2 separate regions of the Homo sapiens genome follow, and region 2 is linked to region 1. Evidence: promoter capture Hi-C in 16 types of primary human blood cells and fetal thymus (Javierre and others, 2016). All regions are on one chromosome and are shown on one strand. Each heading gives the region's core, a stretch centred on a gene start or on the middle of the fragment in contact. The rest is flanking DNA. Distances are from core to core; before and after follow the strand shown.

The links. Contacts are between HindIII fragments. The CHiCAGO score rates a contact against its expected background, and 5 or more counts as called.
Region 2: a contact is called between a fragment that was not itself captured here and the fragment with the promoter of TAF12 in region 1, in 1 of 17 cell types (neutrophils). The highest score is 6.0, in neutrophils.

Annotation. Positions count from the first base shown.
Region 1 is chr1:28,639,114-28,646,343 of GRCh38, forward strand. It overlaps TAF12 (TATA-box binding protein associated factor 12), which reads right to left and starts at 3,954. Exons shown (of 6, transcript NM_005644.4): 1 at 3,879-3,954. TAF12-DT (TAF12 divergent transcript) reads left to right here and starts at 4,143. Exons shown (of 2, transcript NR_146730.1): 1 at 4,143-4,650. RefSeq lists a silencer at 5,504-5,798 and an enhancer at 6,006-6,505. The HindIII fragment of the contact is 14,626 bases long and covers 3,108-7,230 here.
Region 2 is chr1:29,165,755-29,172,984 of GRCh38, forward strand. The region is part of intron 1 of SRSF4 (serine and arginine rich splicing factor 4); the gene reads right to left. It also overlaps a transcript of MECR not described here. Among named protein-coding and RNA genes, the nearest start is that of SRSF4, 13 kb to the right of the region's middle. The HindIII fragment of the contact is 3,765 bases long and covers 653-4,417 here.

The DNA of each region.
Region 1 (7,230 bases), core at 2,704-5,203:
GCCCAGGCTGGAGTGCAGTGGTGTGATCTCGGCTCACTGCAACTTCCACCTCCCACCTTCTGGGAGGCCGAGGCAGGCAGATCATCTGAGGTCAGGAGTTCGAGACAAGCCTGGCCAACATGGTGAAACCCGTCTCTACTAAAAATACAAAAATTAGCCAGGCATGGTGGCGCATGCCTGTAATCCCAGCTACATGGGAGGCTGAGGCAGGAGAATCGCTTGAACCCGGGAGGTGAAAGTTGGAGTGAGCCAAGATTGCACCACTGCTCTCCAGCCTGGGTAACAAGAGTGAAAGAGCGAAACTCCGTCTCACAAAAAAAAAAAAAAAGGTAATATGTCCTTTTGTCCTTTGTTCCTATCGGCTCTAATTATAATGCAATGATTTTCTGATCGGGTATTTTGAAGTCCTATTATAATAAGTCAACGCTAGAGCCACAAATGAAATGAAGTACATTTTGCAAGTATAGGTAAGGATGTTAACTCAGGAATAAATTATCATTAATTAAACCATCAAGTACTTTGAAGTGGTGACATGGGCATCGGTATGCTTTCCCTTATAAGTTGGTATAAGTTAGTTTTGATCATTTATATATAATAGGCGCTTGCAAATAGTACAGGCTAACCCTGGGGAAAAAATAGTAGTTTTAACTAAGCCCAATTCCCCCAAACATCTAGTTCATGATATAATTAACTGGAAAATCAATCAAATTTAAGCCCTTGTTTTTCAAATTACTTTTTTTTTTTTTCAGACAGAGTCTCATTCTGTTGTCCAGGCTGGAGTACAGTGACACAATCTCGGCTCATTGAACCTCCACCTCCAGGATTCAAGTGATTCTCTCCCACCTCAGCCTCCAGAGTAGCTGGGACTACAGGCATGTGCCACCATGCCCAGCTAATTTTTGTATGTTTAGTAGAGACGGGGTTTTGCCATGTTGGCCAGGCGGGTCTCGAACTCCTGATCTCAGGTGACCCGCCCGCCTTGGCCTCCCAAAGTGCTGGGATTACAGGTGTGAGCCATCATGCCCAGTCCAAATTAGTCTTTCTTGGCCTCCTAAATCTAAAATTAAATGTCTTTCTACATTGCAAGGAAAAGCTCTACAAAGTTCCCGTTTTTCTATCTTGAATAATCTATGCTTCTGTGAAAACAGAATTTAGTTCTCAAATGCCACAATACATAAGTACCCTAATATGTTATAGTCCTTGACATTTAGAGGAGCCTTAAGAAGGAGGAGATGCTTTCATTCAATTATATGTTTTGTATAACGATTACTTCTATTTTGCTGATGGACAAACTGAGAGGAATCCACTTAGAAGAGTAGAAAAAAGTTTTAGAGGCACATGTAACTGGGGTTGGGTCACTGTGTGATTTCAGGCAAAGTAACCTCTCTAAACCTATTTCATTATCTGTACAACGGGACTGACAATATCTAACTTGTGGGGCTGTGATAATTAAATCATAGAATACTCGATAGTGCATAAGCTGTGCCTCGTTAGTCTGAGTAGGTTTCAGAAAAAGATATTAATATTGAAGGAAGTGACTGGTGCAAGTCTCCCCACCATCCTTATCCAAAAGCAGCCATCCCTAGTAAATGTTTGCACTAAAAATACAGGACACACTTATTTATGACTTTCCAAACAGCTTATTAAATAAATAAATAACACTGAGCTTTATTTAAAGGTTCCAGCCAGGTGCAGTGGCTCATGCCTATAAGAACATTTTGGGAGGCCAAGGCGGGAGAATCATTTGAGGCCAAGAATTCAACAGCAGCCTAGGCAACACAGCCAAACACTGTCTCTACAAAAAAACTTAAAAATTAGCTGGGTGTAGTGGCTCATACCTGCAGTCCCAGGAGGCTGAGGCAGGAGGAGTGCTTGAGCCCAAGAATATAGGTTGCAGTGAACTATGATTATGCCACTGCACTCCAATATGGGCAACAGAACAGGACCCTGTCTCAAAAACACAAAAATAAAAATAAAGGTTTCCTTACTATTAAGTGACATTTACTGTATTAATGTCAATACAGTAACAACACTCAAATTATCAGAAACTGTAAAAATTTCCAGTTTTTACTGGAAATAAAAACTGGGCCGGGCGCAGTGGCTCATTTCTATAATCCCAGCACTTCGGGAGGCTGAGGCGGGCGGATCACTTGAGATCAGGAGTTCGAAACACAGCCTGGCCAACATGGCAAAAACCTGTCTCTACTAAAAATACAAAAAGTAGCCGGGCATTGTGGCACACACCTGTAATTCCAGCTACTTGAGAGGCTGAGGCAGGAGAATCGTTTGAACTGGGGAAGCAGAGATTGCAGTGAGCCGAGATCGTGCCACTGCACTCCAGCCTGGGTGACTCTGTCTCAAAAAAACAAAACAAAACAAAACAAAAACAAAAACTGCAAGGGGGGTGAGGTGACTCATGCCTGTAATCCCAGCACTTTGGGAGGCCAAGGTGGGAGGATCACTTGAGCTTAGGAGTTTGAGACCAGCCTGGGCAATATAGTGAGACCCTGTTTCTACAAAAAATTTAAAAATTAGCAGGGCGTGGTGGCACACGCCCGTAGTTCCAGCTACTCAGGAGGTATAGGTGGGAAGACTGCTTGAGCCTAGGAGGTTGGAGGTGCACGGGGCCAAGACTGAGCCGCTGCACTTCAGACTGGGCGACAGAGAGAGAACCTGTCTCAAAAAAAAAAAAAAAAAAAAAATTCCCTCCTGAGTTTGAAGATAAAGCAAAGATTCTAGAAGCATTTAAGGAACATTAACCAAGCATCTCATTTGCTACGCACAGAAGGGTACTGTATTAAAATTATGATCTAACTAACCATTGCCTCACTGTAATCCTAAGCCTCTTTGAACCTTAGCCTTCTTAAATGTAAAATAGGAGTTTTTAAAAGATGATCTTTTGGGACTCTTCCATCACTGACATTCTTTTATTTGAGATGCAGAGATCTGTGCTCATTCAGGGTTGAGTGGAATGGGATTTAAAGCACTTATCAAGTACATAACTGAGTTCCAACTGTTTTCAACTTCACATCTGATTCCCAAGAATGAAGCAGAAAATGAAGATGTTTGCATATGGGCTTCCTAGATTGAGTATCTGACACAAGAAAAGCTTGCCAAGAGCCAAGTAGGCAGTGCGAAGGAGAAGTTGTCTTCCCCTGAATACGTCCTTTATCTCTCTGGGTTCAGGGAATACTGTGAAAAAATGGATCACTAAATCTTTTCCAAACCCTTTCCCTTTACTTTGTAGGCTGATCTCATATCCATGGTCCCTTAGATCCAAGGCTTTTAGGAGCTTGGGTACTCACAGCCCTGTTCCGAGACTCAGGAACTCGGAGTCTCAAAGCCCGGATCCCGTCCCCAAAGAAGCCCCAGTCTTCACTGCCCGCTTCTGTTCCCTTCCAAACTCAAGTTTTCTCTGTCTGCTTCTGCCCCTCAGGAACCTAAGTCTTCGCTGCCCCGTTTCTGAATCCTTAGGAGCCCGGGTCTTCACTGTCCCGCTTCTGCCTCTTAGGAGCCCAAGTCCTCACCGCTCCACTTTTACCTCTCCGGAGCCTGTGTCTTCACGCCCCGTTCCTTTCTGACCCTTTCCTCGTAGGAGTGCGGGTCCTCATAATCCTGCTCCTCTCAGACCACTTTCCCTCAGATGCCGGAGAACTCGCATCCGTCCCCGTTCCCTAAGTCCCGTCTTAGAGCCCGGGTCCCCACAGCCGCGTCTTCTCCGAGCCTGATCCTCTCAGTCAGTCCCTTCCCAAGAGCCTGAATCCTCACAGCCCCGTCTCGTCCACAACCTGGTCCTTCGAACACTGACCCACTGTAGGTCTGGGTCCTGACTCCCTCCTCCCGCTCTTGTTCCTCAACTGCCAGGGCCCAAGACTCACAGGCAGCAGCGTCTATCTCCCCATGATATGCAGAGACTGCCCCAGTGAAGCGTTCGTCTCAGCAGCCGGTCCGACTGCGCGGCCCTCCCCGACTACTTCCGGCACCGCTCCCCGCCTCCAACCCGGAAACGCGCGGCTCTTCCGGCCGGCGGGCGCGCGCCTCGCTTGCGCAGGCGCAGACTGCCCTCCGACACGTGGTGGCGATATTGAGCTGTGTGTAGGTACACCCTGCAGCTTGCGCTTTTAACTGCTTGTGGTTGAGTGGCAGCATGAGCGAGCTCTGCGTATTCCAACCCGGCGTTAAGAATCCTTCACTAGCTTTTCTTCCCGACGCTGCTTATTTATCTATCGGTAGCATGACGGGTAATTGACGCCCTCGGATGGCTTTGAGGTCGCCATTTTTGGTTGGTGCCTTTGTCTTGGTGTCAGGACTGGGATATCATCTGGGACACATTACCCCACAGGTATCCTGTTGGACCTCAACGAGGAAGTTGGCAACAGAGGAACCAGGAGATGAGAGAGATCGGTTGGTTGTGCCTGTGAACTGGCAATTCAGTAGTAACAATTGAGTGCTTACTGTTTGCCGGGAATTGTGCTAATCCGCTTACCTCCGTTACGCCATTTAATCATTTAGAGGAGACCTGTGAGAGATTAAGCAAAGTTCTAGCTAATAAGTGCAGAGCCTCAGCTTGAACTCAGAACTCACTACTAAGCCAAAGCCTGTCCTGTAGCATTCTCTAATGCTTTCAGTTTTTCGGCTGTCAGATGCTTGGTGAGAACTGCTGTTATGTGGCTCACGCCTGTAATCCCAGCACTTTGGGAGGCCGAGGAGGGTGGATCACGAGGTCAAGAGTTCAAGACCAGTCTGGCCAAGATGGTGAAACCCCGTCTCTACTAAAAATACAAAAAATTAGCCGGGCGTGGTGGCATGCGCCTGTAATCGCAGCTACTCCGGAGGCTGACGCAGAGAACTGCTTAAACCTGGAGGGGCGGAGGTTGCAGTGAGCCGAGATCGCGCCACTGCACTCCAGCCTGGGCGACAGAGCGAGACTCTGTCTCAAAAAAAAAAAAAAGAGAACAGCTGTTATTTTTTACTGTATGCTGGAATGTTAGGCATGCAAGTAAGACCCAATTCCAGCATCTGTAAGGTTCACAGTAAGATGGAGAAGAACCCACAAACACACCAAAAATTGTATAAAGAGCTGTGACAGGCCAGAGTGAGCCACATAGAAATTAGGAAGAGGTGCCCAGATTGGTGCGGCATCCTGCCCTGTCTTTATATCTTCCTAATCCTCATCCTACCACGTTCCCAGTCCACCCTCTACACTGCCACCCAATCCAAATTCTCAGATTCAAGTCCTCATGAACATTGGGCTCTAAGCTGTATTCCTAGCCTTATTTCCTTGCCACTGCTCTCCATTCTTTTTAGGGTCCGGCATACCACTTTTTGTTGTTGAATGCCTATACATCTTTTTTAAGACCCAGGTTGAATGTATATACGTTCATTTGACAAGTGTTTGAGTCTCATTGTGTGACAAGCCTTTTGCTATGTGCTGAGTACATAACTGGTGGCTAAGACGGATGATCTCTGTCCTTAGAAAGTTTGCAACCTAGAGTGGGAAACAGACCATTAGCAACTGCACAAAAGGGTGATAGAAGAGAATACTGGAATAAGCCAGACTTATCTAGCTGGCTGATGGCCTGAGCCATGGTCTTCAGTAAGGAAAACACTTACTCAAGGACCAAGATGGCCAAGGTGGCTGGAGCTTTGGTAACCGGGAAAGACAATGAGTTTGGAGAGGTAGGCAGGGGTTTGTTATAGTCTGGACCTTTTAGCCTAGACTATGATGGGGACTTGAGATTATATTCAGTATGCAATGGGAAGGTGTTGGAAGAACGGTGAAATTATGGCGATTGTTAAATGATACAGGGTCTCACTCTGTCACCAGGGCTAGAGTGCAGTGGCACAATCATAGTTCACTACAGCCTCAAACTCCTGTGTTCAAGCGATCCTCCTCCACCTCAGCTTCCCAAGTAGATGAATTTTCTTTTTTTTTTTTTTGAGACGGAGTCTCGCTGTTTCACCCAGGCCGGACTGCAGTGGAGCTATCTCGGCTCACTGCAAGTTCCGCCTCCCAGGTTCATGCCATTCTCCTGCCTCAGCCTCCCAAGTAGCTGGGACTACAGGCGCCCGCCACCGCGCCCGGCTAATTTTTTGTATTTTTAGTAGAGATGGGGTTTCACCATGTTAGCCAGGATGGTCTCGATCTCCTGACCTCGTGATCCGCCTGCCTTGGCCTCCCAAAATGCTGGGATTACAGGCAGGAGCCACTGCGCCCGGCCTCTTCTTTTTTTTTTTTTTCTTTAAGAGATAAGGACTGGACACCCTGGCTCACGCCTGTAATCCCAGCACTTTGGGAGGCTGAGGCAGGAGGATCACGAGGTCAGGAGATAGAGATCATCCTGGCCAAAATAGTGAAACCCTATCTCTACTAAAAATACAAAAATTAGCTGGGCGTGGTGGTGCACGCCTGTGACCCCAGCTACTCAGGAGGCTGCGGAAGGAGAATCGCTGGAACCCGGGAGGTGGAGGTTGCAGTGAGCGGAGATTGAGCCAGTGCACTCCAGCCTGCGTGACGGGAGCAAGACTCCATCTCAAACAAAACTACAACAACAACAAAAAAACAGATAAGGCCAGGCCAGGCACTGTGGCTCACGCCTGTAATCCCAGCATTTTGGGAGGCCGAGGCAGGTGGATCACTTGAGGTTAGGAGTTTGAGACCAGCCTGGCCAACAGGGTGAAACCTACTAAAAATATTTTAAAAATTAGCCGGGTGTAGTGGCGCGTGCCTGTAGTCCCAAGCTACTCAGGAGGCTGAGGCATGAGAATCGCTTAAACCTGGGTGGTAGAGGTTGAAGCGAGCCGAGATCGTGCCACTGCACTCCAACCTGGGCAACAGAGTGAGACTGTCTGGGAAAAAAAAAAAAAAGAGAGATAAGGTCAGATGTGGTGGCTTTACACCTGTAATCCCAACACTTTGGGAGGCGCAGCAGGAGGACTGCTTGAGCCCAGGAGTTTGACCGGCCTGGGCAAGATAGGGAGACACTGTCTCTAAAAAAAAAAAAAAAAAATTAGCCTCAGCATGGTGGTGTGTACCTGTAGTCCCAGCCACTCAGGAGACTGACAGGCAGGAGGATCTGCTTGAGCCTAGGAGTTCCAGGCTGCAGTGAGCTATGATTGCACCACTGCATTCCAGCCTGGACAACAGAGCAACACACTGTCTCAGGAAAAAAGACAGAGAGAGAGATAACACTGGTGGATGATAGGAAGAGCAATTGACAGCACCATCTC
Region 2 (7,230 bases), core at 1,285-3,784, 530 kb after region 1:
GTATGAGGAGCAGGGGAAAGCAAGCCTCCATGCGTGTGACCGTGGTCACCCACCAACACTGCTTACCGAGGGGCATGCCTTGGATGGTCTCTCTATAAGAAAATATGCCCCTTTCCACGGTGGATCTCTGCTCACCTTTGTCCTAAAACTGTGCCACATGCTTTTCTTTGTATGTGGACATGACAGTCCTCAGCCAACCATCAGCAGGATGTGAGTTTTGTTTTCACAATGTGGTGAGCCATTCCCACATTCACTCATTTTCCTTGTAAGAACCGAACCTCTCCATGGCTGGTCAGGATTAGGGATGTTGCTGTAGCCAAGGAAAAATTTTCATCTGTTGAAGTTAACCCACGGGGTGGCTTGAACCCTCAATCTAGAGTCAGTAGCACTGTACTTTAAGGGGAAAGTCCTTAAATCTACCCTGAAAGAAATGGCATTCAGTGAACAGGAATCAAACAGCTTTGTTTCAAAGCACTCAGTGATGTCCTATGCTTCAGCCAACTTGGTCTTATGAGGTAAAAAGTCAGGACACACTGATAGGACAGTACTAAAAAAACGGTAATTCTTGCTGTCTGCATAAAGTGCTTGGCAAACTGTAGAAAGACACTTCTGCAACCAACTCTAGTGCTCAGAAGAGGCCAACTCAGAGAAAAGCTTGTGAATGAGAACAGTGTAACTGCCCCGATTCCAAAGGTCTGCAACATTCCAGGGAACCAGCGTTCAGGCCCTCACAGAAGAATTAACCAATGTCACATTTACTGCTCAGGATCAGTGATTATGGTTGCAATTTGACTTTCCTGGCAACAGAGGGTTGTTTACAACCCACAACTAAAAGCTGCTACCACATGAAATGGGTTCCTGAGATCCTTTCCTTTCTTGAGACAGGAAGGAGGCTGCTCTGGGCATTGTGGCCTCTCTTTAGTCTCAGAGGAGGGAGGGCCATCAAGGCCACCTGGAGGAGGTGGATGACTTACCCGTGCTCACTGAGTGGCAGAGCTGGGGTGCGACTTCAGGGCTCACCATTACCCAGTCTGGGACTCTTTTCACGTCGGCAAACTGGCAGTTCCCGCACACCAAGGGCTCTCTGATTAGAGCTAGTGTGGATTCCTGGTCTGCAAACGTTGGCCACAGCTCAGTCTGCACTTGATCTTTCCCCACCTTCAAAGAAGAAAACCTACCTCATGATTTCTCTCTTCCGGATCCCTTGACCATCTAATTTGCTCCCAACACCTTTGTAATCACTTCTGACTATATCTTATTGGTTACCCACTGGGTCTACTGCCAAGTTCTGCAGTTTTCTCATTTGCTGGGCCTTCAGGGCTGTCTCTACCATTTGGATTAATTTATGTAATTCTAGGCTAGAGCTATTTTTACTTAGTCAACTTGTCTTTTGCATTGTGTCAGGAAAAGTCAGCTACTAAATCATTTTTTTGTTTAGAAGTCTATAACGACTCCTAAGTATCTTTATGTCACTCTCTAAACCTGGAACACCTTGACTACACAAGTTGAATTATATCAATCTTCTTCCATATGCTTGAGAATTACCTCTTTCATGAAGCCTCAGAAACTTGCCTATTCCAATTATTTTAGGACTTTCTTTAGCTTTAGCACTTCTATTCAATTTTACGCTTTTTGTTTTTGTTTTTTTGAGATGGAGTCTCGCTCTGTTGCCCAGGCTGGAGTGCAAAGGCACAATCTTGGCTCACTGCAGCCTCCACCTCCCAGGTTCAAGCAGTTCTCCTGCCTCAGCCTCTTGAATAGCTGGAATTACAGGCACACGCCACCACGCCCAGCTAATTTTTATATTTTTAGTGGAGACGGGGTTTCACCATGTTGGTCAGGCTTGTCTCAAACTCCTGACCTTGTGATATGGCCGCCTCAGCCTCCCAAAGTGCTGGGATTACAGGCGTGAGCCACTGTGCCCAGTCATGTTTCTGTAGCTTTTTAAGTCTTGTTTTTGTCTTTGTGCTTACCTTCTCTTTTGATTATGAGCTCTTCACTAAGAAAAACGAAGGCTAATATCTGTTGGCTATTTAGCACAGTGCCTGGCACAGTAAATAATTTATCCATAATATTTCATCCATTTGTATATCAAATGTGAAGAATGTATTATTATTCTTCTCATTTTACAATGAGAAACTGAGGCTTGGAGTAAGCAACTTGCTCATTTTCAAGGAGCTCATGAGTGAAGGAGCTAGATTTGAACCCAGACCCATGACTCTAAAAATCCCAGCTCTAAACCACAAGGTTCTAATTCCTTTTTTTTTTTTTTTTTAAAAAAAACATAGTCTCGCTCTGTCGCGCAGGCTGCAGCGCAGCGGCGCGATCTCCACTCACTGCAACCTCTGACCCTGGGCTCAAGCAATTCTTGTACCTCAGCCTTTAGAGTGGCTGGGACTACAGGTGTGCACCACCATGCCCGGCAAATTTTTTGTAATTTTTTTTTTTTTTTTTTTAGGAGAGACAGGGTTTCACCATGTTGCCCAGGGTGGTCTCGAACTCCTGAGCTCAGGCAATCCACCTGCCTTGGCCTCCCAAAGTGCTAGAATTACAGGCATGAGCCACCATGCCCGGCCTTCTACTGTATTTTAAAGGCAGATGCTTCTCTTCCAGTCCTGTGTACAATCTTTTTTCACTCAATAAATGCTGCTGCTTGACTTAATGATACTCTAACATCAGATAAAGTCAGGCTGTAGTAAAGGTTTTTGATATAATGGGGTAAAGTCTCTAGAGAAAAAAGAAATTGACCTTGGGGCAGGGTGAAGCACCTCTAAGCTGGGGGTATGTGACAACCAGGTTACTTTCACTCGTCTTTTGGTTCCCATTAGCCAGTGTCAGCCATCTGGTCCTTCCGAAAACATGTGTGGGTTCAGAACATAACAGACTAGAAGAATAGAGGAAAAATAAGATTATTCTGTGCAATCCCCATTCTGGAGGTCCCATATCAACCCCCGGAGTCTGTCTTTGCTTCTAAGGCTCAGCAAAAATTAGACCAGCATAAAGAAGATGAAGACTTGGATCTAGACGTGGTGGATGTGAATGAATATTGGCAATATTATGTATTTAGGAATGTATTTAATTAGTTTTGCAAGGAATGGTGACTTGAACCAAAAAATATAAGCGTGAATGGTAGGAGGGAAATGGGCCAGAAATCAAAGAATACTAGAAAGTTTACAGACTTTCAACTATACAAAGGTTAAAGCAGCAACCAGAAAAGTACCATGCAGATGATAAACATCTAAGATGTGATTTAATTTTCATTAACTAAAAACTATTTTTAACATGCAGCCCACTAGGACTCTTCTTCACATTTCTTTGTAATAATTACTACTCCTATTTTTGAAAGTTTTACGATGTATAAAGCATTATGCTAAGTGCTTTACACACATTATATCCATTTAATTTTCACAACTCTGAGGTTTACTGTCATCTGACAGATCAAGAAACTAACTTAGAGGAGTTGAGTAACTTGCCAAGACTATCCCAAAGACCTGGGATTCTTCACACCCAGCTAACCTAAAACCTGCATTCTACCACCACGTTTTAACCGCCTCCTATATACCAATGAAAAGTGGTCCATAAAACCAGAGTTGGAGAAACACAAGCTCTTGCACAGAAAATCAGTTTCATCAAATTATGTGCTGTAGTGTGGAAGACAAATGCCCACAGGAATATAAGCATCTTATGAGAAAGAGTAAGTGGCAAGAAAACACCATTTCTGCATGTGATGTGTGTGTGCTAATACCAGTAAGTTGTGAACATTTATTCTCTACAAGTGGAACCAAACCCATATGCCATCAAAATTTTAATACTAGTCTAGGAAAATAGAAAAAGGTAACAAATCATTAAGAAACTTATATCTCAGCAATGAGAACACAAATATATCAGTGGGAAAATTAAACTCATGATCCTTTCTCATAAAGTAAACCAACTGCTGAAAAAAAATCTCTAATGATGAACTAACCAAACTCAAGCCCATGGTATTGAGTCCACATTGCAGATAACAGCCCATCTCTAACAGAATATATATTCACATAGTAGGGTGAGAAAAACAGAACAATCATTATCCTAAACACCAAACAGTAAAACTAAATCCTCCCAGAATGGGAGGTAGAGAGGAATCTGCATCAAATATGAATTTAGTCTTACTCTGTAACTACTCTATGAGCCTATTTGCCAACTTTGTTTTAGCTATTCAAAACTTTCAAAAATGAACTAAGTCAGCTAAGGTATTTCACTTTTACACTGCAAATAGTTTGTGGATCAAACTATCATTACCCCCTGCAATCATAACTGAACTTTCTTTTTTGATATTTTAAAGTCAACATGGCTTTCCTGAAAGGGAGGGCAGATACAATCATCTGTGTCCATTTCAATTTTCTGACACTTTTCAACACTAAGGATAAATGAAATTGAAAGCTTTCAAAAAAGGGGAATCAACTATTGCCTGATGACAAGAAGTTCGTGAAGACTCAACCACAAATTAAAAACGATTTGAAAAAACTCGAGAGATGAAAGTCACATTACCAATTTAGAATAAAACTCTTGGGATTTAATATAGAATTACTTTATCTGTTATTCCTACTTAAAGAAATAAAGGTTTACACTCTGCAGACAGCACTACCTGATTCCACACAAAAGCTACAAACAAAACCAGTTCATACTTACCTCTTAAACAACACAATGAGCAGGCTGCCAGGTGTTAAAGCTTCATTAAAGATGATGCCTCTTGGATCATCTTGGCTGTATGAGGCACCATGTCCCTCATAATCGCCCCTGGTCCCTGGGCTGGAGTCTGTTTCTTCATTTTCATTTTTGGTTAAAGATGCCACTCCCTATGCTTTTATTAATTAGTGGATGCCACTAATTAAGTATTTTAATGAATTTTTCAAATTCTTTTAAAATGGATGGATCAATAGCTTCATTTCAATTACATGAAAACCTTTCCAAGTCCATGTTTCTGGTCTGTGGTTCCTGACTCCCTTGCCTGAGCCTCCTGCTCTGTCTGCCCTCTTCATTCCTGAAGGCTGAATTCAAACCTCCCTCTTTCAGACTTCCTCTTCTCTCTAGGTCTTGGGGGTCTTTGTTCATGAAGGTCCCCTTTCTGGCATAAAAACCTAAACCCATGGTTGGGGACCTGGGAGAAATAAAGTGCCTTTCAAGCGCTTCTTCAGACATTGCGTGCAGTTCAGAAATCTTTAGCCTGGGAGACTTTCATCTCAACACACAGAAAACTCAAGTAAAACATTTCCTCAAACTATGGGCATACAAATTCAGAGCATAATCTAATCCCTCACCTTCAGGGTACTATAAGACCAGACGGCCCTAGGAATGACAATAAGGCAGAGAACATTTACTTGTACAAATCCTTCCTCAGCCAACCACGATAAAGCTGATACCACCTTACAGCTTTTCAAAGAGTAGCCTGAGGAGGAGAATCACTAGCAGTCTCCAACTAAGGACAACATCATAAAAAATACCATCTGTCTCACTTTTGGCAGTAACTTGTCAGCTTGCTGGAAGCCTCTACAGAGACTAAAGGCTGAACAAGCCCGGAAACCTGAACTACCCTCTCACCCTCAGAGGCAATCCCCAAAGGACAGGACTAAAGGAAATAGCATGAGGGAAGCTTTGAATGTCAATGCCCACATGTATCTAGTATGGGAATTTAAAAAATCTTCTATTTCCGGAGTTGTCAATAACTCATTTTGTAACCTTGGGCCAGTCACCTTATCACCCCATGCCTCAGTTTCCCCATCAGTACAAACTAGGGACAACACTTGTTCATAAAGTACTTTGACATACTCAGTTGAAAAATAAGTCATACAAATGCATTAATATTTTCGGAAGTTTTAAGATTTCAGTGTTAGCTTACAAATTTGTAAGTATCACCCCAACGGTATTCTCTCAGATGCCTGGAGCACCTTTCTTCTGAGGAGCTCAAAGTAAAATTTGCGGTTCTGGGTACCTGGAAGCATAAAAAAATACTAGAAACCCAAACCACATTTTATTACCGAGTCTATATCCTGTGCCTATCTTTTAAGAAGGGACAAATACTTCGTATGGCCCTTAAATTCATACAGTACCTCAATGAGAAAGGAGGAGCAAAACAGTATATTAAACTGAAGAACAGGGATTTTAAATGACTTAGTCAAATAATTACAAATGATGTTTATTCATACCACAAACTGAAGGGACCAAGAACCAAGGAGTGGAGGTCTTGAACCAGGGCAATTTACGCTGTTAACATTTGGTCAAAAATCTCAATATGGTATTATCTCTTGGCATTGATTTTTCAAAATGACAGAAAAAAATTAAATTCCCCATATATTGGGGGAAAAAAATAATACACTTTTTTGGGGGGTAAGTTGACTTTAAAAAGTGACTTTTAATAAAAAAAAATTTGATCACATTTGTAATAGTTATATTACTAATAAAACAATGACAGAATGCTACTTAATTCATAGTCCTATCTCTATTTATTATTCATTCAAGAAAAACTTCCTGATTATTTTTCACTTGGTAAATTAGCATCTTTTATTTTTATTTTTTATTTTTGAGACAGAGTCTCACTCTGTCACCCAAGCTGGAGTGGAATGGTGTGATCTCACACTGCAACTTCCGCCTCCCGGGTTCAAGCGGTTCTCCTGCCTCAGCCTCCCGAGTAGCTAGGATTGCAGGAGCCTACCACCATGCCCAGCTAATTTTTGTAATTTCAGTAGAGACAGGGTCTCATCATGTTGGTCAGGCTGGTCTCGAACTTCTGACCTCAGGTGATCCGCCCGCCTTGGCCTCCTAAAGTGCTGGAATTACAGACGTGAGCCACCACGCCTGGCCAGCAAACACAACAGGGGTACTCCATGCTGTTGAAGTGCCCATCACACGGGCATGCTCATACACTGCGGGTGTTAAGTGTAACTGGTGTAGCTTTTCTGGAAAGTTATTTGGTTATATGCACTGAGATACTTGAATATGTTCACTCCTGCTGTGACACATGAATTTTATTTCATGGAATCCATATGTACTCAGGGATAATAAAAATGCAAACAAAGTTTTATGCACATAATACCCATCACAGGGTTACTTATAACAGCAAGAATTAGGAGACCAAAAAAAAGGTAGACAATATAAGAGGAATGGTTGGGTAAGTCATAATATTGCCATACAATGGATTTTATGAAGCCATTAATAAGGAAGATTTTAATGTAATAGAAAATACATGAGATAAAT